Regions from separate parts of the Homo sapiens genome. Here all the other regions are linked to region 1. The links are contacts of gene promoters, found by promoter capture Hi-C in human tissues and cell types (Jung and others, 2019). All regions are on one chromosome and are shown on one strand. The core of a region is centred on a gene start or on the middle of the fragment in contact, and the rest is flanking DNA. Distances in the headings are between cores, read along the strand shown. Region 1 holds the start of TGM6 (transglutaminase 6). Region 2 has its middle 25 kb from the start of TGM3. Region 3 overlaps ZNF343 (zinc finger protein 343). Region 4 overlaps SNRPB (small nuclear ribonucleoprotein polypeptides B and B1).

Evidence for each region. The method cuts DNA at HindIII sites, captures the fragments that hold promoters and counts their contacts. A contact is called where the count stands out against the background at its distance.
Region 2: a contact is called between a fragment that was not itself captured here and the fragment with the promoter of TGM6 in region 1, in 2 of the 25 tissues and cell types used here (aorta and dorsolateral prefrontal cortex).
Region 3: a fragment that was not itself captured here is called in contact with the fragment with the promoter of TGM6 in region 1 in 2 of the 25 tissues and cell types used here (H1 embryonic stem cells and small bowel).
Region 4: a contact is called between a fragment that was not itself captured here and the fragment with the promoter of TGM6 in region 1, in 3 of the 25 tissues and cell types used here (H1 embryonic stem cells, bladder and mesendoderm cells).

The regions. Positions count from the first base shown.
Region 1 is chr20:2,378,405-2,384,947 of GRCh38, reverse strand. TGM6 (transglutaminase 6) reads right to left here and starts at 4,047. Exons shown (of 13, transcript NM_198994.3): 1 at 3,973-4,047. The coding sequence starts at 3,979. The HindIII fragment of the contact is 30,296 bases long and covers 1-6,543 here.
Region 2 is chr20:2,267,280-2,273,822 of GRCh38, reverse strand. No RefSeq gene overlaps it. Among named protein-coding and RNA genes, the nearest start is that of TGM3, 25 kb to the left of the region's middle. The HindIII fragment of the contact is 4,728 bases long and covers 1,799-6,526 here.
Region 3 is chr20:2,481,838-2,488,380 of GRCh38, reverse strand. ZNF343 (zinc finger protein 343) reads left to right here. Exons shown (of 6, transcript NM_024325.6): 6 at 3,725-6,543. The coding sequence ends at 5,220. Among named protein-coding and RNA genes, the nearest start is that of SNRPB, 14 kb to the right of the region's middle. The HindIII fragment of the contact is 4,668 bases long and covers 1,897-6,543 here.
Region 4 is chr20:2,462,673-2,467,203 of GRCh38, reverse strand. It overlaps SNRPB (small nuclear ribonucleoprotein polypeptides B and B1), which reads left to right. Exons shown (of 7, transcript NM_003091.4): 3 at 1,385-1,496; 4 at 3,305-3,457; 5 at 3,977-4,115; 6 at 4,443-4,531. SNORD119 (small nucleolar RNA, C/D box 119) reads left to right here and starts at 4,157; the gene lies at 4,157-4,252. The HindIII fragment of the contact is 5,678 bases long and covers 1-4,089 here.

The DNA.
Region 1 (6,543 bases), core at 2,798-5,297:
AGCTCTGGGGGCCTTCACCCTTGGGGTATGCAGGATGAGCTCCCAGCCCAAGGCTAAAGGCTCGCCAACCCCAGGGCTGAGGCTGTACCCCCCAGGCACAGGGAAAGGATGTGGTAAGAGTGCTCCCTCCACCTGCCTGTTACCCCAAGCCTCATAGCCCCTCCAGCTTGTCTGCTCTCCTCCCCTTCTCCCTCTCATCGTCTTCTCAGCGCTTCCTTTCACTCTGCACAGCAACTAGAAGCCTGATTTCAGAGGCACACACTTGAGCTCACATGCAGGCTTTGCCCCTCGTTGGCTGTGTGGCAAGTGAGTGAGCTCTGAAACTCAGTCTCCTGGTGACAATGAGGGTGATGATCATACCCGCTTCCTCACGTTGGGAGGATTAAGTGAAATAATTCACATAGAGTATTTAGACTGGTACCAGGCACATACTAGGTTCTCAGGAAATGTGAGTGGTATCATCATTACTATTTACACAAGACCTCCTAGCTGCCATTCCTGTGCTCTGCCAATTCATGACATCCTGAATCATCTACTTGTTGGCTGTGTGGCCCTGGATCTGAGGATCCGATTTCCTTCTCTGGAAAGTGGCAATAATAATATCTTTCGTCTAGGGTTTCGAGGAGGATTAAATGGGGTAGTAATTATACATAGGGTAGTGATAAAATGCACCACTTAAAGCAGGAAATTCTGAGAGTGAAAGGAGAAGCCATTAATAAACACGCTAGGGCAATGGGCTTCCACCAGGATCAACGTCTCCCTATTCATCAGGTACGTAGCCTGGTGCTGGGTCCACAGTGATGAGCTCTACGAACAGGGATTTTTTTTTTTTTTTTTTTTTGAGACGGAGTCTCACTCTGTCGCCCAGGCTGGAGTGCAGTGGCACAATTTCTGCTCACTGCAAGCTCCGCCTCCCGGGTTCATGCCATTCTCCTGCCTCAGGCTCCCGAGAAGCTGGGACTACAGGTGTCCACCACCATGCCCGGCTAATTTTCTGTATTTTTAGTAGAGATGGGGTTTCACCGTGTTAGCCAGGATGGTCTCGATCTCCTGACCTCATGATCCGCTCACCTTGGCCTCGCAAAGTGCTATGATGACAGGAGTGAGCCACCGCGCCCGGCCTACAAACAGGGATTTTTACATCATCACTCCTTTCCCACATCTCCCCCATCACTTTGGTCCTCCCCTCCCCAATTCCTACATGCACGGGGTTTCTTGTTATTCTCCCCTCTTTGCTTCTCGCTTAAGCGACTGTATGGCCCCAACAGCTTCAGAGTGTTTTTCAGCTCAACCTGTTCAATCCATCCCATCACTATGGAGAAACTGAGGTTCAGAGAGGAGAAGGGACTTTTCTGAGTGTCAGCATGTCATTTTCCCTGCTCAAGCACCATGGAATCTACAGCCATCTTGTTGGCATTGAAGGTCCTTGACAGTCAGGCCCTGCCCATCACTTCTGGCCCTCTGACCTCCTCCCCAACTAATTTGCTCACCAGCTGGCCCCAGAGCTCCACCTAAGAAAGGGAAGGGTCCATGTGCAGAACATTGCCTCCTGCCGACTTAGCTCTCCACCCATCCCCACCCCCAAGCCTAGCTCATCCATCTTCCTCCTCCTGCCCTTGGGTGATACCAGAGAGCTGAATGATACAATCCTCCCCAATTCTTTGTCTCAGGCCAGTGGGCTTGAGCCCTGGAAACTCTGTTGAAGCCAGTGGCATCTTCCAGACTCTGGACTAAGCATAATTGGTTTTTAATGGGCCCCATTATAATCCTATGCTTAGTACGCATCATGAGCACCTGAACTCCATGACTAAATGATTTATCGAGAGTTGCCTGGGGCCTTTCTGGGGCCACTGCCCCATCTCTCTTTCCTTCCTGGTCTTGTTGGAAGCTGCTGGCCTCTCTTTCACCAGGAGGCAGTGACTCATCAACTCCAACCCAATGTCCCAGCCAGAGCCAGCCTCACATACAGTATTCCACTCAATTCTTGGAATCTCTGAGCTGAAAGATGATTGTAATTTAATCATGGCAAAAGGGTCTCACCTCCTTTGCCAACACTGATCAACTGGTACTTAAAGAGCTGGGTTGAGCATTCTGGGGCCACATCCAGGCTCCAGAGGGAAGAGCTCTGGGGTCAACTAGGGATGTCCACCATGGATGGAGTGAGGGAGGGGGGATAGAAGGAGCTCCAGGAAGATGAATACACTTTCCATCTAGGATCTGATGTCTCAGTCATTCAGGCACAGAGTGTGTGGTAGGCAGGACCTACTGCTCTGAGGAACAGATCCTCCCAAGAAGCCAAGAGGACCCAGAAGACCCAGGAATTGAATCCAATCCAACACATAGTCCATTTACATAGGCATGACAACTCCAATGCTGACATTTCACAGACGGAGAAACAGAGCTTCAGAGAGAGGAACCCAGCAAGTTAGTTACAGACCTGACAATGGGCATCATCATCAACTTTTTTCCTTCCTCAGAAACTAACCTTCGCACTGTCAAGTTTAAGTCTGATAGGTTATCAAAGGCCCAGGGAAGAGGGATCATCTAGGTGAACTTTGAGAAGCAGATCTTGGAGGAACAAAGGCAATCCCCTCTGCACCAGGGCCATCAGGGAGGCAACCCCAGCTCTGGAAACAGGCAGTCTGGGCTGTGAGCTGGTGTTGGCAAGGCCTGGTCTTCAGAACAGACCTATCCTAGGAGCCTGAAGGGCCCAACACGTCCAGCAATGCTGTTAACTGCCAGGAGGAAATATGAAGAGGAAGCTAGACTATGATGAGGAAATTCAAATATCTGCCTTTGAAAGTTAAAAAAATATTTGATTCATAAAACTGTCACATAATGCTGAACAATTAAAACTGGCAGACACAGACTCAGAAACACCCCTTGAATACCTGTGAGTGTAGGACCCCTGGTTCTGCTGACTTGCTCATTACCGGGCCCCAGCATCTAAGACAAGTTCTTGCAGAGGGAGTTTGCTGCTCACTATATTGAGGTCGTGGGGGACACATTATCTTACTTTCTTTTTTTTTTGAGACAGGGTCTCACTCTGTTGCCCAGCCTGCAGTGCAGTGGCACCATCTTGGCTCACTGTAGCCTCTACCTCCTAAGCTCAAGCGATCCTCTCACCTCAGCCTCCCAAGTAGCTGGGACTTTGGGTGTTCCCCACCATGCCTAGCTAATTGTTGTATTTTTTTGTAGAGACGGGGTTTTGCCACATTGCCCAGGCTGGTCTCAAACTCCTGAGCTCAAGAATTCCACCCCCTTCAGCCTCCCAAAATGCTGGGATTAGAGGCGTGAGCCACTGTGCCCGACCCACATTTTCTGAGTCTACTGTTTACAAGTCCCCACTTGAGATGTGTGGTGGGAGAACAGCACACGTGGTCTCACCAACTCCTCACAGCAAGGCTGTGAGATAATTTGCATTATAATCCCCATTACACAGATCAGAAAACAGAGGTACCAAGGGCAAATTTTCTTGCTCAAGGTCATATAGCTGTTTTCACTTGAGCCAGAGCTGCTCTTGCCCTCAAGTGCTTGGGGTGGGAATCAGGCGAGGATGCAGCCGGTGGGGGCCTCTCACTCCTTCCCACGCAGGCCACAATTCCCAACTATGCCCAGAAACGTCTCTGGATCCATGGAATGTGCATGGGGTGCAAGGAGATTTTCTTTTTTCTGCCCCTGCCTTCCTGTGCCTGCCTCCTTCAGTCCTCCGAGGCACAGGGGTGAGACCTGGCCCCAGCCCAGGAGACAGCGCCTGAGCCAGCCTGGGCCATGGCCTTGCTGGGTGGCTTAAAGCTGGCTTTTTCATCCTGGGCCTCATGAATCCACACGAAGAGTTCATGTGTTCATGGTGGACTATCCAGCTGTAAAATCCTAACAATCGATGATCAAACGTCATCCCACAGACCCGTGTTTCTTGAAGCCCCCCTCATGAGCCCTGGTGTCCCAAGGCCCCAGGCTCTGCCCACTTACCTGCCATGTGAAGGCCAGCTGGACTCCTCTGTTCCTCCACACAGCAGTGTGTGCACCGTCAGGACAGTGTGGCGCGTCACAGCAGCCAGCCAGACCAATTTTAACAAGGAAAACCTTGGGACACTCCTAGGCAGGAAAGTCAGAATTCAAAAGAGGAGGCGTGGCCCTCCACCCTAGCAGCGACACCCACGAGACACAAAATCATCCTGTAATTGCACCTAGAGGGGTTCACTGTGGGAGTGGCTCCTGCCAAGAGACCTTGGAAACACGGAGTTGCGAATGGGACTGTGGAGAAACTGAGGCTCAGAAAGGTCACAAGCCTGGCAAGAAAAAGAACGGGGAAAGAGAGAAGACTGAGGGAACTCGGATTTATGGTTGGCCATTCTTAGCCCTCACAACAACCCTCAAATGAGAAAAAACAGGCTCAGCGCCAGGACCCCGAAGTACATGGTTGCACGCTGCAGTGCCGGGTCAGTCTGTGGCTCCCTCTCCCCTCCTGGGTGAGAGCAGAAGACTCCTGGGCCCACAGCTCCACTCTGTTCTGCAGGCATCTAAAGAGGCAGAGGTCCATGATCCTCCTTCAGGGCCACTAGACTTCCTTGGTGGACACTAGACTCTTGAGAGGAGGTAGATAAGAAAAAGGGGAGAGCTGGTTCTGACTCAGAAGCTAGGCCCATCTGCCCTGACTTTGTGAGTGGCCTCCAGCCAGGAGCTTAGAGGCCTGGTGGCCATGGGTGTCCCGTGACCTTGGACAAGACCTCTCCCCTCCTGGAACCCTGGTGTTTCTACCTACAAACTAAAGGGATTGGACTCAATTATTCTTCAGGGCCATTCCAGCTCAAAGTCTAAGATTCTGGGCTTGAAGGTGCTGGAATTCAAGGCATCTGAGGTCTTTTGTTAATGAAATAGAGGGGATTTTATTTTCATGGAAGCCGGTGGGGTAGGTTTCTTTTTGCCGGAGAAATGCTTTGATGGATGACTTGGGGCTATCGAAGGCTGGATGTGGCCTGGGCCAGTGAGGAAGGGGAAGTGGGAGGGGGTAGAATCGAGGGAAAGAGACAAGGAAGGGTAAGGAGACAACCGTGTGCTGAGCACAGTAGGATGAGGCCGCTCCCTGGGATCACCCCAACATTCAGGAAACTGCATAAAAACCCCAAAGTGTTTGATGTGGTTGGATTTCTTACAGAAAGTGGCAAAGAGGCTGAGTTCTGCTTCCTGGTTTCACGCAGATCAAGCGTCTTTAATGAGCTGTCTGCAGACCCACATAGCCTTATAATTACTGACATCTGGCAGCAGCCCAGGGCAGCTCCTTCCTCAACACCCTGCAGGCTGCTGCCCTGTAGACCCTGGGCCCTGCTGAAGCTGCTTTTCTGCCTATGCAGGGTCAGGCTCCTCCCCACTAATGATGGTCTTATTCAGGGCCCTTTTATCTTTCATCCTGGGCTTGCTTGGACGGGAGCTCCCAGAAGACAGGGCATCAAAATCACTGCCTGCCCCACTGCTCGAGACCCCAAATAATAATTCATACTCCTCGTTTTTTTTTTTTGAGACAGGGTCTCGCTCTGTCACCTAGGGTGAAGTGCAGCGGCACGATCTCAGCTCGGTGCAACCTCTACTTCCCGGGTTCAAGCAATTCTCCTGCCTCAGCCTCCTGAGTAGCTGGGACTACAGGCGTGTGCCACCATGCCCGGCTAATTTTTTGTGTATTTTAAGTAGAGACAGTTTCGCCATGTTGGCCAGGCTGGTCTCAAACTCCTGACCTCAGGTGATCTGCCCACCTCAGCCTCCCAAAGTGCGAGATTACAAGTGAGAGCCACTGCACCCGGCCCATACTCAGTTTAGAAGTGAGCATCATAGCCTGGCAGTAGAGTCCTGGGTTCTGTTATCTCTGGGCCAAACTGGCTGTGTGACCTTCAGCAGGTCACTTACCTTCTCTGGGCCTTATTGCCTTCATCTGTAAAATACGGGTGTGAACTAAGTGTTACCAGTTCCAACATTCTCTGATTCTGATGATCAGGCTAGAGATGACAGACGGGAGCCAAAGCCTTGGGCGGCTCAGGGTACCCCAATGCCAGGCATAAAGTGGGTGCTTCACAAATTAAAATCTGTGCCTGGGGAATAATCAGATGCTTTAAAAGCAATTTAATTGTTCTTCTGGCTATAGAGATAATACATACTCAGGTACAAAATTCAAGCAATACAGGGAGTGAAGAAAGTATACATGCATACGGCTGTATACACATGGCAACAAATTTACATGAATCGCATCATACACAGAAGCTGTTTTGTAACCCGTCCTTTTTGCTTGACCAAACATGGTGCTCTCTTTTCTTTTCTTTTTTTGAGACGGAGTCTTGTTCTGTTGCCCAGGCTGGAGTGCAGTGGCTCGATCTCAGCTCACTGCAAGCTCCACCTCCCGGGTTCTCACCTTGCTTCTGCTTCAGCCTCCCAAGTAGCTGGGACTACAGGCACCCGCCACCATGCTCAGCTAATTTTTTTTTTTAATTTACTTTTAGTAGAGATGGAGTTTCACCATGGCCAGGATGGTCTCAATCTCCTGACCTCGTGATC
Region 2 (6,543 bases), core at 2,913-5,412, 110 kb after region 1:
GCTCAGTGACCTCAGGTTGTTCTTCTGCAGAACCTCTCTAGTGTAGATCAACAGTGAAGGAAGAAAGGAAAGATTCAAGAAGTAGTAGAGAAGAAAGAAACTCAGGTAAGGGAACACATGTCTTAAACCTTAAAGAGAAACTTCTCTACTGGCACACCATAATCCCCACTGTAATTACCTTCTATGCTGGGGCACAGAGAGGGAAGGGCTCTACCATGGCTAAATCCTTTTCTTTTTTTTTGACAGAGTTTTGCTCCTGTTGCCCAGGCTGGAGTGCAATGGTGTGATCTCAGCTCACTGCAACCTCCACCTCCAGTTTCGAGCGATTCTCCTGCCTCAGCTTCCCAAGTAGCTGGGATTACAGGCGCCCGCCACCACGCCTGGCTAATTTTTTGTATTTTTACTAGAGATGGGGTTTCATCATGTTGGCCAGGCTGGTCTCGAACTCCTGACCTCAGGTGATCCACCTGCCTCGGCCTCCTAAAGTGCTGAGATTACAGGAGTGAGCCACCACGCCTGGTCGGCTAAATCCTTATTGGTGTAAGTCCTACCTACCACTGGGAAAAAGGAGGTTTTATCCCCATTTGGGAGGTGAAGAAACTGAGTCTCAGAGGTCTTAAGTTATTGATGCCTAGTGTTCTACTATTGGAACGCTAAGCTTGTGGGAGTTATTTGTATCCTACTGCTCAAGGTCATCGCCAAGGTCTGATTTTTCACACAAAAAAATTTGTGACCTCCGGCATAAATGTGTTAAGTCCAATGTCCATTCCACCACCCTAAGTTGCTTTTGTGCATCAATATACAAATCACATGTATTTTTATTATCTCCATTTATTCTTGTTGTTATTAATTATTTCATAATAATATCCTTCTAGATCTTTGCATTTATTCTGCTTTGTTTGGCTTTTTAGGACACATTAGCATCTTTTAAAATACAATGTTTGTTTTCTATTTTTTTTTCTTTTATTTTTGAGACGGAGTTTCACTCTTGTAGCCGAGGCTGGAGTGCAATGGTGCGATGTTGGCTCACCGCAACCTCTGTCTCCTGGGTTCAAGCGATTCTCCTGCCTCAGCCTCCCAAGTAGCTGGGATTACAGGCACGTGCCACCACTGACGGTTAATTTTTTGCATGTTTGGTAGAGACGGGGTTTTGCCATGTTAGCCAGGCAGGTCCCAAACTCCTGACCTCAGGTGATCTGCTTGTCTCGGCCTCCCAAAGTGCTGGGATTACAGGCATGAGCCACCGTGCCTGGCAGTGTTTGTTTTCTGATCAACATACTTAAGGTTATAAATTTTACCCCAGATATTATTTTTGCTGCATCCATGGGTTTTGATATTTCCAGTACGTATAATAGTATCAAAACCTATTTCATTAATGATATTTCATGAATACCTTCATTATCATTCAGTTCTAAATATTTTATGATTTCCACTGGGTTTTCTCTCTAGCCCATGGATTATTTATAAGGATGATTTTTGCTGTCCAAAACTGTTACCTATTTTTTGAATAGATAATATGTACACATAAAACAAAATTCAAGAAATAAAAAATGCAGAAAAAAGTCTCTCAGAAGCTACATCTGTTTGAGCCCACGCATGTGACATAATGGAAAAGGCAAAACTGTAGGGACAGAAAACAGATCAGTGCTGTCGGGGGCTGAGGGTGGTGCCACGGCTTGACTATAGAGGGACAGGAGAAAATTAGGGGTGACGGAAGCAGTCTATATGTACATTGCTGTGTGCCCCCATGGCTGCACGCATTTGTCAAAACTGGGGGAAATGTATACTAAAAGGGGCGAATAGCAGTGTATGTAAATTATACCTTAATTTAAAAAAGTAAGTCTCCCTCCCCTCTCCTGCGCCCCAGGCACCTTGATTCTCTCCATAGAGGCAACCACTGTTACCAGCTTCTGAAGTATAATTTTATGGGCTATTTTATTCATTTTCAAGTGTATACCTATTTTTTAGACACAAATGGCAACATTATTTATTAATAATTTTTTTCTTTTTTTAAAAAAGCTGTATTGAGGTATCACACCATATAATTCACTTATTTAAAATGTGTGATTTAGTGTGTTCACAGTTATGTGGACACCACCACAATCAATTTTAGAATATTTGTGTCTCCCCCAAAGAAACCCTTTACCCTCCCATTCTTAGACAACAACTCATTTCCCTGTACCTAGGCAACTAGTAATCTACCTTCTATCTTTATGGATTCGCCCATTCTGGATATTTCTTGTCAGTGGAATCATACCATACTTGGTTTGTTTAGAGAGAGGTGGTATCCATTAGCACCTAGCTTCTAGATTCAATAGATACCAAGTTATTTGGTAAAGGTGGGGGCTATAAGATCTCTCCAATGTAAAGATACATTTATTGTTTGTAATTAGTAACAAAACTGTGGGGTGATATTTTGAGACTATGAATATTCTGTTTCCTAACAGCATATCATCTAGTGGTTTTAGTGTCCATTGAAGATGCTTGTGTAAATCAGTGAGACATTGGGATTACAAAGTAGTCATTTTCTATTACTATCATATCTTCAGGAATTATTTAGTTCATAGTATTTCTAATTCAGACGTATTGTACACAGTTTGTTCTTCTGTTTTTTGTTTGTACCTGTTTTCTCTCACTATGAAAGTCTTGGTTCCTAATAACAAATAAATGTTTTCTTTTATTTTAAATATAATTAATCATATCAACATATTTACATTATCCTATAATGTACATTATAATGGTCCGGAAGTCTTATCATACCTAAAATGTTTCACATTACAGTACCAAATAGGAATGCTGGATCATAGGATAAAAGCATATATGATTTTGTTAAATAATACCAGATTCACCCAATAGGGTTTTACCATTTCGCATTCTTGCCAGCAATGTAAGAGTTTCTATTTTCTTACAGCCTCATCAGTATAGTGTGTTGTTAAGCTTTTGAATTTTTGCCAAATAGATGAGAAATGGTATATCTGTGTAGCATATATTTTAAAAACTTTTCTATTATGGAGATTTGTGAACATCCACAAAAATAGAATAGTGTAACCAATCCCATGAACACCATCATTTAGCCCCAGCAACTACCAACCCAACCACCAATGCCTCCTCCGTTTATTCCCTTCTCTCAAATTATTTTGAAACAAATCCCAGATAATATTTTTCTTTTCTTTTTCTTTTCTTTTCTTTCTTTCTTTTTTTAAATTTAAATTTAAATTTTTTTTATTATACTTTAAGTTCTAGGGTACATGAGCTCAACATGCAGGTTTGATACATAGGTATACATGTGCCATGTTGGTTTGCTGCACCCATCAACTCCTCATTTACATTAGGTATTTCTCCTAATGCTATCCCTCCCCTAGTCCCCCACCCCCCAACAGGTCCCAGTGTGTGATGTTCCCCACCCTGTGTCCAAATGTTCTCATTGTTCAATTCCCACCTATAAGTGAGAACATGCGGTGTTTGGTTTTCTGTCCTTGTGATAGTTTGCTGAGAATGATGGTTTCCAGCTTCATCCATGTCCCTGCAAAGGACATGAACTCATCCTTTTTTATGGCTGCATAGTATTCCATGGTGTATATGTGCCACATTTTCTTAATCCAATCTATCATTGATGGACATTTGGGTTGGTTCCAAGTCTTTGCTATTGTGAATAGTGCCGCAATAAACATACGTGTGCATGTGTCTTTATAGTAGCATGATTTATAATCCTTTGGGTATATACCCAGTACTGGGATTGCTGGGTCAAATCGTAATTCTAGTTCTAGATCCTTGAGGAATCCCCACGCTGTCTTCCACAATGGTTGAACCAATTTACACTCCCACCAATAGTGTAAAAGCGTTCCTATTTCTCCACATCCTCTCCAGCATCTGTTGTTTCCTGACTTTTTAATGATTGCCATTCTAACTGGCATGAGATAGTATCTCATTGTGGTTTTGATTTGCATTTCTCTGATGACCAGTGATGATGAGCATTTTTTCATATGTCTGTTGGCTGCATAGATGTCTTCTTTTGAGAAGTGTCTGTTCATATCCTTTGCCCACTTTTTGATGAGGTTGTTTGTTTCTTGTAAATTTTTTTGAGTTCTTTGAGGATTCTGGATATTAGCCCTTTGTCCGATAGGTAGATTGCAAAAATGTTCTCCCATTTTGTAGGTTGCCTGTTCACTCTGATGGTAGTTTCTTTTGCCATGCAGAAGCTCTTTAGTTTGATTGGATCCCATTTGTCTATTTTGGCTTTTGTTGCCATTGGTTTTGGTGTTTTTAGTCATGAAGTCCTTGCCCATGCCTATGTCTTGAATGGTATTGCCTAGGTTTTCTTCTAGGGTTTTTGTGGTTTTACGTCTAAAATTTAAGTCTTTAATCCATCTTGAATTAATTTTTCAAGGTGTAAGAAAGGGATCCAGTTTCAGCTTTCTACATATGGCTAGCCAGTTTTCCCAGCATCATTTATTAAACAGGGAATCCTTTCCCCATTTCTTGTTTTTGTCAGGTTTGTCAAAGATTAGGTGGTTGTAGATGTGTGGCATTATTTCTGAGGCCTCTGTTCTGTTCCATTGGTCTATATATCTGTTTTGGTACCAGTACCATGCTGTTTTGGTTAGTGCAGCCTTTTAGTATAGTTTGAAGTCAGGTAGCATGATGCCTCCAGATTTGTTCTTTTTGCTTAGGATTGTCTTGGCAATGTGGGCTCTTTTTTGGTTCCATATGAACTTTAAAGTAGTTTTTATCAGTCCTGTGAAGAAAGTCACTGGTAGCTTGATGGGGATGGCATTTAATCTATAAATTACTTTGGGCAGTATGGCCATTTTCACGATATTGATTCTTCCTATCCATGAGCACGGAATGTTCTTCCATTTGTTTGTGTAAATTCTTTTATTTCATTGAGCAGTGGTTTGTAGTTCTCCTTGAAGAGGTCCTTCACATCCCTTGTTAGTTGAATTCCTGGGTATTTTATTCTCTTTGCAGCAATTGTGAATGGGAGTTCACTCATGATTTGGCTCTCTGTTTGTCTGTTAATGGTGTATAGGAATGCTTGTGATTTTTGCGCATTGATTTTGTATCCTGAGACTTTGCTGAAGTTGTTTATCAGCTTAAGGAGATTTTGGGCTGAGACGATGGGGTTTTCTAGATATACAATCATGTCATCTGCAAACAGGGACAACTTGACTTCCTCATTTCGTAATTGAATACCTTTTATTTCTTTCTCTTGCCTGATTGCCCTGGCTAGAACTTCCAACACTATGTTGAATAGGAGTGGTGAGAGAGGGCATCCTTGTCTTGTACTGGTTTTCAAAGGGAATGCTTCCAGTTTTTGCCCATTCAGTATGATATTGGCTGGGGGTTTGTCATAAATAGCTGTTATTATTTTGAGATATGTTCCATCAATACCTAGTTTATTGAGAGTTTTTAGCATGAAGCACTGTTGAATTTTGTCAAAGGCCTTTCCTGAATCTATTGAGATAATCGTGGTTTTTGCCATTGGTTCTGTTTTTGTGATGGATTACTTTTATTGATTTGCATATGTTGAACCAGCCTTGCATCCCAGGGCTGAAGCCAACTTGATCGTGGTGGATAAGCTTTTTGATGTGCTGCTGGATTTGGTTTGCCAGTATTTTATTGAGGATTTTTGCATGGATTTTCGTCAGGGATATTGGTCTATAATCCTCTTTTTTTGTGTGTCTCTTCCAGGCTTTGGTATCAGGATGATATTGGCCTCATAAAATGAGTTAGAGAGAATTCCCTCTTTTTCTATTGATTGGAATAGTTTCAGAAGGAATGGAACCAGCTCCTCTTTGTACCTCTGGTAGAATTCGGCTGTGAATCCATCTGGTCCTGGACTTTTTTTGGTTGGTAGGCTATTAATTATTGCTTCAGTTTCAGAGCCTGTTATTGGTCTATTCAGGGATTCAACTTCTTCCTGGTTTAGTCTTGGGAGAGTGTATGTGTCCAGGAATTTCTTCTAGATTTTCTAGTTTATTTGCATAGAGGTGCTTATATTATTCTCTGATGGTAGTTTGTATTTCTGTGGGATCGGTGGTGATATCCCCTTTATCAGTTTTTATTGTGTCTATTTGATTCTTCTCTCTTTTCATTTTATTAGTCTTGCTAGCAGTCTATCAACTTTGTTGATCTTTTCAAAAAACCAGCTCCTGGATTCATTGATGTTTTGAAGGGTTTTTTATGTCTCTATCTCTTTCAGTTCTGCTCTGATTTTAGTTATTTCTTGCCTTCTGCTAACTTTTGAATTTGTTTGCTCTTGCTTCTCTAGTTCTTTTAATTGTGATGTTAGGTTGTCAATTTTAGATCTTTCCTGCTTTCTCTTGTGGGCATTTAGTGCTATAAATTTCCCTCTACACCCTGCTTTACATGTGTCCCAGAGATGCTGGTACATTGTGTGTTTGTTCTCATTGGTTTCAAAGAACACCTTTATTTCTGCCTTCATTTCGTTATTTACCCAATAGTCATTCAAGAGCAAGTTGTTCAGTTTCCATGTAGTTGTTCGGTTTTGAGTGAGTTTCTTGATCCTGAGTTCTAATTTGA
Region 3 (6,543 bases), core at 2,981-5,480, 100 kb before region 1:
GATGGACATTTTAATAAATGGTGTTGGGCAACTAGATATCCATTTGGAAAAACATAACATTGGACCATATACCACACACCATACACAAGAAAAATCCCAAATGACTAGAGATCTAAATGTAAAAAATTAAACCGTAAACACACTAGGATAGGATGGGGGTAAATATTCTATCACCTGGACACAGGAAAAGGTTTTCTAAATTTGGCTAAAAATCCAGATGCCTAGAAGGGAAGAGTGATAAGTTTGACGCTGTAAGCAAAGTCAAAAGAAAGGACTAATTTCCAGGAAATATTTGCCACATACAGTATATCACATATAAAGAGTTATTTTCCATAACATAGAATGAATCTTAAAATTCAAAGAGAAGAACCCTAAAACCAGATAGGAAGAAAATAGGCAAAATACCTAAATAGACGATTCACAAAATAAAATATAACATTGTCCCTTAAATGTTTGAAAAGGTGTTCAACTTCACTTCTAATTAGATAAATGCAAATTAAAACTACACACCATTCTTAACATACCATTGGCAGCATTTAAAAAGGTTGACAGAACACTTGGCTAAGCTGAGGGCTATAGGCAACCTTATACACTGCAGATGGCAATGCAGAAATGCTGCAGCCATTATGGAGGGAAATTTGGCAACATGTAACGAAACTATATATGCATATGCTTTGACCTGGCAATCCTACCTATAGGAATTTACCCTGAAGATTCATCTCCAAAGATATTACACTTGTACAGGGTTATTCATTGTAGCATTGTTTCTGTATAAAAGATCAGAGTAACCTAATTGCCCTTATGTAGTAAATTGGTTGAAGAAGTGATGATACATGACTTCCAAAATGGGGAAGAGCTCCTCTGAACTGATAGGGAGTAAATTCTTGGATATATTAAGTGAAAAGAGCCAAGTGCAAAGAGTGTTTTTAAAAGTGAGAAATTATGAGCATATGCATATCTGTTTCTTCTTTTTTTCTTTTCCCACAAAGTAATACAGGGTTAATAAACCAGAAACTAATGAGATTGGTTAGCTGTGAGGTTATATGTGGGATTTGGCTGGAAGGCTATGGAAAGGAGAGGCATGCCCTTTCTGAATAGTTTTGCACTTTTGGAGCATGTTAGTGTTTAAATACTCAAAGAAAGGAATTAAATCAACAAAGAGAGGGAAAATCCCTACAATCGAATACAAAGAGAAACAAATTTACCTAACTGTGTTCCAAAATAATAACACGACCACAGGTAACAGGGGAAAACAACCCCGTTAACAGAGAGCTTTGACCATACTCCATAGTAAAATGAGGGTTGGCAAACTAGGGTCTACAGGCCAAATCTGTCTCACTGCCTGTTTTTGTAAATAAAGTTTTTTTGGAACAATGAATTATTTATGGCTGCTTTTGTTATACAATGGCAGAGTTAAGCAGTCATGATAGAGACCATGTCACCTACAAACCCTAAAATATTTACTCTGGTTCTTTACAGAAAAAATTGGCCAACTCCTTCTCTATTGACAAAGAAGTGCATGAACTATATGGACTATATTTTGTATATTTGTGTTTTGTAAGGATGTGGGTCCACAATTCTGAAACTATATTCCTTGCATTTTTTTTTTTTTTTAAGATGGAGTTTCGCTCTTGTTGCCCAGGCTAGAGTGCAATCGTGCAATCTCGGCTCACCACAACCTTTGCCTCCCGGGTTCAAGCAATTCTCCTGCCACAGCCTCTCGAGTAGTTGGGATTACAGGCATGTGCCACCACACCTGGCTAATTTTGTATTTTCAGTAGAGATGGGGTTTCTCCACATTGGTCAGGCTGGTCTGGAACTCCCGACCTCAGGTGATCCACCTGCCTCAGCCTCCCAGAGTACTGGCATGAGCCACTGCACCCGGCCTTATTCCTTGCATTTTAAGATTAAGCAAATGAGTAAATATATTGATGATGCAAGACAGATCTCTCAACTATATAGTTCTTTAGAAATATATACTGAATTATTATATAGCAAAGGGGCATGATAGAAAACAGAGTTCCTCAAAATGGCCTCAGTAAATCTAAATTATCTTTAGTGAAATGATGATACTTTCCTAGTAAGGCGTAGGGATTAGAATCATAGTGAGTATACATGGGGTCCCTTTAACAGGGTGTTAAGTGTAAGGAGCTTTTGGTTCCAGTGTTTGACACAAAATAGACACAAATGAGATTTCTTCTCCTACTGAAATGCTTCTCAGTGATGTAGGGTGTTACATCACTGCCGTATATATATTCAGACTGCAGTCTGAATGACTTGGTATGCTTCTAGATAATCCAAAAAGATGGCAGCGAATCACAGTCAAAATATCAAGGCAAAAAGTTCACGTCACAAAGTACCAGAATGACCACAAGTCTTATAAGAGATGACGGGTCAGAAATAGAAACAAATAATGAGTTACTTTGAGAACCCAAGTAAACCAAACAGACTCAGGGAGTGCTCAGTGACAGCAAGCAGAGCCTGACAGCTGCTGAGAGCCTCACCCATGGCAAGGCTGCCAGACAAGCAGCTTTGAGCACATACGGCTCAGTCTACACACAGCTGTGTTCCTCTGGCAGTCCAGCAGTTCCAGCACTGGTCGGTGCCTTGTCAGAGCAACCAAAGGGAAAACACATTGTCAAAAACTAAAACAAAGACCACAAAAGGTCAAAAAATCAAATGGCACAAATCATTTACTTAACAGGAAAGGAGACACAGCAGTGAAGAAATTCACTGTATAGTTTGGCAAGGGGGAAAAATAAAAGGTTTTACTGTTAGGGAGCAGTTTCATGATGGTTATGCTAATTAAGGTTTGAAAACTAGCATTCCAGATAGGATAGGATGAGTTTTTAAGGACAGATACAGTTGATTATAAAGATTCCAGTGTTCATTAGTTAGGCAGAAGTCTTCAGTTAGGCCCAGTAGGGTCTGGGGCCAAGTACGTGGTCATTTCTCAGCATCAGTTGGATAGATCATGTTGTGATGAAATGCAACATCTAGTTTTGATATTTTGTAGGCAGGTGCTGCTGTAAATGAAAAGTTTTTCTTTTTACTGATTTATGAAAAGTGGAAAGAAAGGCAGATTTTGTTGTTTTGGCTTGGTGCCAGAATCCTAAAATCATGGACCATGTCTTTCTTGTTCATTACTGAATTCATAATACTTAGTAGAGAACCTAGTACTTTGGCATTTTCTAATAAGTCTTTGTTTACAGGTGGGCAGCCTGAAATTTATATTTGTTTTATATACAATAATTTCTTTAACCAGTATTCCATACACTTTCTCCTACATTCGGAAGCCCTCCAGAATGAGGGACTTTTTATGTCTATCAGACCCTTTTTTATATAATAAGAAAAGTCATGAAGGAGATTTCCACATGTGTCATAGAGACCACTATCTCCAAGCAGAACAAAGAGCTGTGGACAGTATATACCAATGTGAATGTCTATGGCTTAGGAGAAGGCTAACTATGATTGAAGCTGTTTACAGAGCAGAATACTCACTTGAGAGGTTCCTGGTTTCTCAAGATATTTTTGTTATGGATTTTCTGGATTGCAATAGAAAATGTGATGGAATGTAAAGGAATCATTGTTCAGAAGCAAATTGTGTTATACTTATATTATCAATTATAGGCATGGCAGTAAAACATTCTCTGTCCTAAGACAAGGCAGAACAACTCAGCAGCCCTACTTATGGCTACTCTAACAGAAAACTTTCATTCTTCAGCAGAACCAAAGCCAGAAATCTACACTTGTTCCTCCTGCCTTCTGGCCTTCTCCTGTCAGCAGTTCCTCAGTCAACATGTACTTCAGATCTTCCTGGGCTTATGTGCAGAAAATCACTTCCATCCAGGGAATTCTAGCCCAGGGCATTGGAAACAGCAGGGGCAGCAGTATTCCCATGTAAGCTGTTGGTTTGAAAATGCAGAAGGTCAGGAGAGAGGAGGTGGCTCCAAACCCTGGTCTGCAAGGACAGAGGAGAGAGAAACCTCAAGGGCATTCCCCAGCCCACTCCAAAGACAGTCAGCAAGTCCTAGAAAAGGCAACATGGTGGTAGAAACAGAGCCCAGCTCAGCCCAAAGACCAAACCCTGTGCAGCTAGACAAAGGCTTGAAGGAATTAGAAACCTTGAGATTTGGAGCAATCAACTGTAGAGAGTATGAACCGGACCATAACCTGGAATCAAACTTTATTACAAACCCGAGGACCCTCTTAGGGAAGAAGCCCTACATTTGCAGTGATTGTGGGCGAAGCTTTAAAGATAGATCAACCCTCATCAGACACCATCGTATACACTCGATGGAGAAGCCTTATGTGTGCAGTGAGTGCGGGCGAGGTTTTAGCCAGAAGTCCAACCTCAGCAGACACCAGAGAACACATTCAGAAGAGAAGCCTTATTTGTGCAGGGAGTGTGGGCAAAGCTTTAGAAGTAAGTCCATCCTCAATAGACATCAGTGGACTCACTCAGAGGAGAAGCCCTATGTTTGCAGCGAGTGTGGGCGAGGCTTTAGCGAGAAGTCATCCTTCATCAGACACCAGAGGACACACTCCGGTGAGAAACCCTATGTGTGCCTGGAGTGTGGACGAAGCTTTTGTGATAAGTCAACCCTCAGAAAACACCAGAGGATACACTCAGGGGAGAAGCCTTATGTTTGCAGGGAGTGTGGGCGAGGCTTTAGCCAGAACTCAGATCTCATCAAACACCAGAGGACACACTTGGATGAGAAGCCTTATGTTTGCAGGGAGTGTGGGCGAGGCTTTTGTGACAAGTCAACCCTCATCATACACGAGCGGACGCACTCTGGAGAGAAGCCTTATGTGTGTGGTGAGTGTGGCCGAGGCTTTAGTCGGAAATCACTCCTCCTTGTCCACCAGAGGACACACTCAGGGGAGAAGCATTATGTCTGCAGGGAGTGTAGGCGAGGTTTTAGCCAGAAGTCAAATCTCATCAGACACCAGAGGACGCACTCAAATGAGAAGCCTTATATTTGCAGGGAATGTGGGCGAGGCTTTTGTGACAAGTCAACCCTCATTGTACATGAGAGGACACACTCAGGAGAGAAGCCTTACGTGTGCAGTGAGTGTGGCCGAGGCTTTAGCCGGAAATCACTCCTCCTTGTCCACCAGAGGACACACTCAGGGGAGAAGCATTATGTTTGTAGGGAGTGTGGGCGAGGCTTTAGTCATAAGTCAAATCTCATCAGACACCAGAGGACACACTGACGGGAGAAACCTGTGTATGCAGGGGTCATGAACAAGACCTGAGTGACCAGTCAAGCCTCATGTTACCCCAGAGAGACACATGGGGAGTAGACCCTGTGTACACAGATTGTGAGTGAAGTTCCAGAGATGTGTCAGCCCTTATCAGGCATGGGAGGGACACGTTCAGGAGAGGAGCCTTATGAGTATAGAGTACGGGCAACTGTAGCCATCAGTCAGCCTTGAGCATGCACAAAAGGACACACTTAGGAGAGAAGTTTATGTGTAGGGACTGTGGGAAGGCTTTAGCAATAATCAACATTTACCAGACATCCAATGACAGCCTCAGGGGAAAGCACCCTTGTCTGGGGAGTGTTGGGGAGCATCAGTAAAAGAATGGACACTCAGGCACAGAGTGGCCCTCAGGAAGGAGGTCTTTGTTTGTAGGATGTATGGGCAAAGCTTTTGTGATCACACACCACAGGGAGAATCTGCATGTGGGGACACTGTGGAGCTCTGCCCAGATGACCTTTTCAGGGGTAACACCCCAGCTGCTTGAGAGAACAGTGTTGCTGCTGGCAGAGATGCATTCCAGAGATGCACTCCGCTCTGGAACTCACTCTCAGCCACAGGGAGCTGCATGCACCACAGGGGCAATGCACCTTTGCAGGGGTACCTTCTGGCCCCAACCCTTGACTCAACGGGGACAACTCCAGAAGGTCATTCCAGATCCAGAGATCCCCATCGAACTGAAGGATCACTGGGTTGCAGACACATTGCAGGTCAGCTTCTTCCTCTGCCCAGTCCTGCCCTCACTCCCCAGTGAATCCTCAATTTTCTGTCTCGTTGTCTGTCCAGATAATTGATTCTAAGACATGTTAGGTATATAAGGAGTGTAGATAAGGCTTCAGCCATGAGTCACCCCGCAGTAAGCCCCAGAGTATATTGAATAGAAATTCTGCATGTGTGGGGAGAATGGACAAGGACTTAGGAAAAAGTCCTCATCAAAGAACAGCTTTTTTGGGACAAGCTTTACATGGGTGGGGAGGGAAAATGTGAAACACATTAGCAATAAGTTAAACCTCATCTTGTACTAAAGGAGGACACACTCAGGGAGAAGACCTCTGTGGGCAGGGCTTGTGGGTGGAGCTTCATCCCGATGTCACTCCTCAACTGACTTAGGAGGACAGTCTTGCTACCCCAAGTCACTACCTCACTCACCTCTGAGGGATTTTCAGGAAATGTCTTGACTCCCCCATGTACTCTGTATGTGAGCGAAGATGGCAGTAACTGTTAAATAAGCATTCTTTTCTACTTCTTGGAATCAGATGAAATAAAAAAGCAGGC
Region 4 (4,531 bases), core at 1-2,500, 85 kb before region 1:
ACCCTCTTCAGGGTAAGTGCTCAGCTCCCCATGTGGGTTTGGGGCCAGTGATTTTTGTTGGCATTTATACAAACAATTGGAGATATTGTCTACTTTGCTACAATTCCGTAAGTTATTGGCTAACTCCCTTGCCTTGAGTCTCACAGATCTTAAGCTTTTGGCCCATTAAAAGATATGATTTAGCTTCCCATCATGTTTTACATTCAAGGCTACTTGAGGCACAAAAAGATGATGTGACTTCCGTGGCCAGCAGCTCTTTTGTCATATGCAGTGTCCATATTATTCTGTCACTCACTTTGAATTCCCTTTGATTCTCCTTGGGGCTGATTTCTTCTGTGACCCAAGGTCAAGAAGTATAGTTTAAAAATGTGGTAGGGATGCCTTGGTGCCAGGTACGTATTAGAGAGGGGCCAACAGATGAGCGTGGAGCTACTCCAAAGTTCCCTCCTGATTATAAAAAATGTTTATTGGAAAATATTTTTGAAAATACAAAGAAGTCTATGAATAGAAACTAAAATACCCCGAAGGGTTTTTTTCTAATTATGAAAGGACAATACATGGTTATTATTTTAAAAAATAAGAAAATGTGAGCCAAAAAAGGGAAAAACTGTCCATCCACAGACAACCAGTTAATATACTGTAAAATATCAAAACAAAATCTTTTGAGTTCTTTTTTTAAATCAGGCTATTTTTTCCCCTTTATTTTTAGGATCTAGCTTTAGCTTTTTTCCCCACTTTCCTATCCTGTTGCAGTTATTTTTCCTACTTCACATTTATATTTTGTTCATCTTTTTCTGGTTGTTGCTTTTTGGGGGTTTCTGTTTTTATGCTTTTGAGGAACAGATATGAAATTTCAATTTCTGTGTATGTGAAATTTCTCTTAACCTTTTCCTTCTATGGCTTCTCCTATTTCTGATGTAAGATGAGGGGCAGAATTATAGGCCTGTGAGGTTGAATTGATATTAGAAGGACACTGCACGTAAGTGAGGTGGGTGGGAGTCATTTGATTGGAATTGTTTAGGCAGCCTCCTGATGTTGGCAAGACCTTAAGCTGAAGGGAGGGAATAGGGTCCTAAGAAAGAAGACTTGGCTGAGGGAAGGGCCTTCACGGTTGCTGTGGAATAGCATTTGGGCCCGGGCTGGGCTTTGTTGACCTTGTCCTATCTCTTGGTCAGTGTGTCCTCTTGGCATGGTAGGAAACAGGTAGATAGCCACCTAAGAGGTTATGTGTTCAGCCTGTAGAGACTATCCAGGAGGGCTATCTTGGGAAAGTTTGTGTACTGTTTGTTAGGAGATGCAGTATAAGCAAATCTTGGAGGCCACTAGGCAGGTGAACTTTACCCACCTCTAACACTTTTTTTGTTCCTTCTAAACCTCTCTTTAGGCCAAAGAACTCCAAACAAGCAGAAAGGGAAGAGAAGCGAGTCCTCGGTCTGGTGCTGCTGCGAGGGGAGAATCTGGTCTCAATGACAGTAGAGGGACCTCCTCCCAAAGATGTAAGTCAGAGCAGGAAGCCTTGTGGAGGAGGGGAGGCCCTACTGTGAGCCAGGCTCTGTGTTAGATTCTGTTTCATTGCAGTTCTCACAGGCATCCTCTGGATTTTGCCCCCTTTTTCAGATAATAAATGAAATCTTAAAGAGGTTACCCTGCAAGAGGCCGGGCGCGGTGGCTCACATCTGTAATCCCAGCTCTCAGGGAGGCAAGAGGCGGGAGGATAGCTTGAGCCCAGGAGTTCGAGACCTGCCTGGGCAATATAGCGAGACCCCATTCTCCAGAAAAAGGAAGAAAAAAAAAAAGACAAAAAAAAAAAAAAGAGGTTACCCTGCAAGAAAGAAGTGGAAAAGGGGAACTAGAATTTGGGTATCTCAGACTTTAAAGCTCTACCTGTTTCTCAGTTGATGTACATAGTGAGTCAGTGGAGGAAGCACCTGAAGCCATCTGGGTCAGTTCTTAATGTGACGACAAAGCCTAGGTAGACCTTAAAAAGTTGTAACTCCGAAACAATAGGAAATGTGTGTATTTTGTTTTGTACAGTTACAGTTCATAGTTACTGAGAATCTACCTTGCGCCAACCACTTCAGTATTTTATTTGATCCTTTAGGTCTCTTTAGAGATAAATTCTCATCTTATAAATAGAATAAACCAGGGCTTAGTAACTTGCCCAAGGTGCCACAGCCACTAAGTGGTGAAACTGACATTTGATCTCAGACAGTCTTGATTCTGTAAACACCAAGCTACACATAGAAATAGAGCAGGCTTTAGAGACCTAGTCAAATTTGTTTTCCCTTTCCCTTTTTCATTTGAAGGGTTTTTTTTTTTTTTTTTTTTAGATTTTTAGATGGAGTCTCGCTCTGTCGCCAGGCTGGAGTGCAGTGGCACGATCTTGGCTTATTGCAACCTCTGCCTCCCGGGTTCAAGTGATTCTCCTGCCTCAGCCTCCCGAGTAGCGGGGATTACAGATGTGAGCCACCACGCCCTGCCAAGACGTTATTTTAATCAAAAGAGAATAATCCTTTTAACTTTTTAAAAATCCACATATATTATCTGGATTTTTTTGTACTTAACACATAGTGGGCATATATTATGTTGTTCTGTGTTTTCACTTAATGTTAACATTTTTCTAGTTGCTCAACACTTTTAAAGTCAAGTTAATGACTGAGATTTTCTCAAATGAGTACAGAGTAGTTTATCCTAATCATTTTCTTTTTTGGAGATTTTTACGTTTTTGCCTTTTCCAGTTAAAAATGTCTGCAAGGGATGTTAGCATATCTTGGTTCAAAGTCCATGTACATATTCAAATCTCTTAGTACCTACTTCCAGTAGAATTGGCTGGTCTAACATAACCCATCATAAACCTTTGTGATCACAACCAGTTGTACCATAACCATGTCATTTGCAGATAAGGCAACTCAGCCCGGGATTGTGGGATTATTTGTCCATTGTCACCTAGCGGATTAGAATCAGCTGGGAATGGATCTCATGTCCCTTTAATGCCTTGCCTGCTGAACCCTGAGTGGAACCCTGGCCCTTTGCTCTTGGTTTAACTTTCACAGGAGTGCATATAGGTGGTTGAGTTGTGGCATGTTTCTCTAGACTTACTCTTAAGTTCTACCCTGCTTCAGGGATAACTCATAGTCTTGGATGGAGGAAGAATGGTGTTGGCACACATGGAGAGGTAGTATTTATAAGCTATTTCGATAGTATTTATAAGCTATTTCGAGGGGCTCTCTTGGCAATGATATTCCAAAGTATACTTCTGATCTTCAGATCACTGGGCATCAGAGCATATTTGTTTATTTTTCAGACTGGTATTGCTCGAGTTCCACTTGCTGGAGCTGCCGGGGGCCCAGGGATCGGCAGGGCTGCTGGCAGAGGAATCCCAGCTGGGGTTCCCATGCCCCAGGCTCCTGCAGGACTTGCTGGGCCAGTCCGTGGGGTTGGCGGGCCATCCCAACAGGTGAGGAGTTGGGGAAAGGGTACCACCTCCTGGTGGCTAAAATAAAGGATAAAGGGGAGGGTCCATAGTTTTAAAAGGGTCCAGAGTGACCAACCTGTGATTGTCAGACTATCAGTGTTTCACTGTGGTTTATACATGGCCCTAGAAGCAAGTGAAAAGGATAAGTTGCCATTGTAAATTATGTTGATGCTATTAAAGAGATGTACGAATTAGCCAACTGTATTTAAGGAAAATATTTCCATGACAGCATTTGAAATCATGAGTCATATTTGAAAATGCAGTTGCCTTCTCTCACTTGGATTGGACATGCTTACATTCAGGTCTAGAAGATGGGAGTTGGGCATTCAAGCTTGATCTTTCCCGACATGTGGTTTTGGATGGGAAGTCTGGTGCTGAGAGTTGTAGCATTAAGGGATTTGGTGTCTGTTATTTCCCACTGTCCTTCCCCAAGTTGGGGAGGAGAGTGGGAAGCTGCATTGTACTGTACTCTTCTAACTCTTTCTTCTTATGTCCTCTTAGGTGATGACCCCACAAGGAAGAGGTACTGTTGCAGCCGCTGCAGCTGCTGCCACAGCCAGTATTGCCGGGGCTCCAACCCAGTACCCACCTGGCCGTGGGGGTCCTCCCCCACCTATGGGCCGAGGAGCACCCCCTCCAGGTGAGGAGCCCATAAGGAGACCAGTGCTAATTGATAGAAGATGCCTTAGCTGGATTAATGATGAGATATAACCTTGACTGAAGCTGATGATGAGTTTGTATAATTAAGCAGGATTACTCTGAGATCCAGCGTGGCTGACTGATGAGACTAGGTGGACAAGAGCCATTGGGAGCCCTGGGTGTTAGGCTCAAATGTCAGTTTTCTGGGAGCTGCTGAGAGGGTGGAATGGTCCATCTATCTCAGAACTTGGTGGAAAGCTTTGTAGTTTTTTTGCTACCTTTTCAAGATAGACACTTGAGCTATATTCTTGGGGCTTTTCTCTTGCAGGCATGATGGGCCCACCTCCTGGTATGAGACCTCCTATGGGTCCCCCAATGGGGATCCCCCCTGGAAGAGGGACTCCAATGGGCATGCCC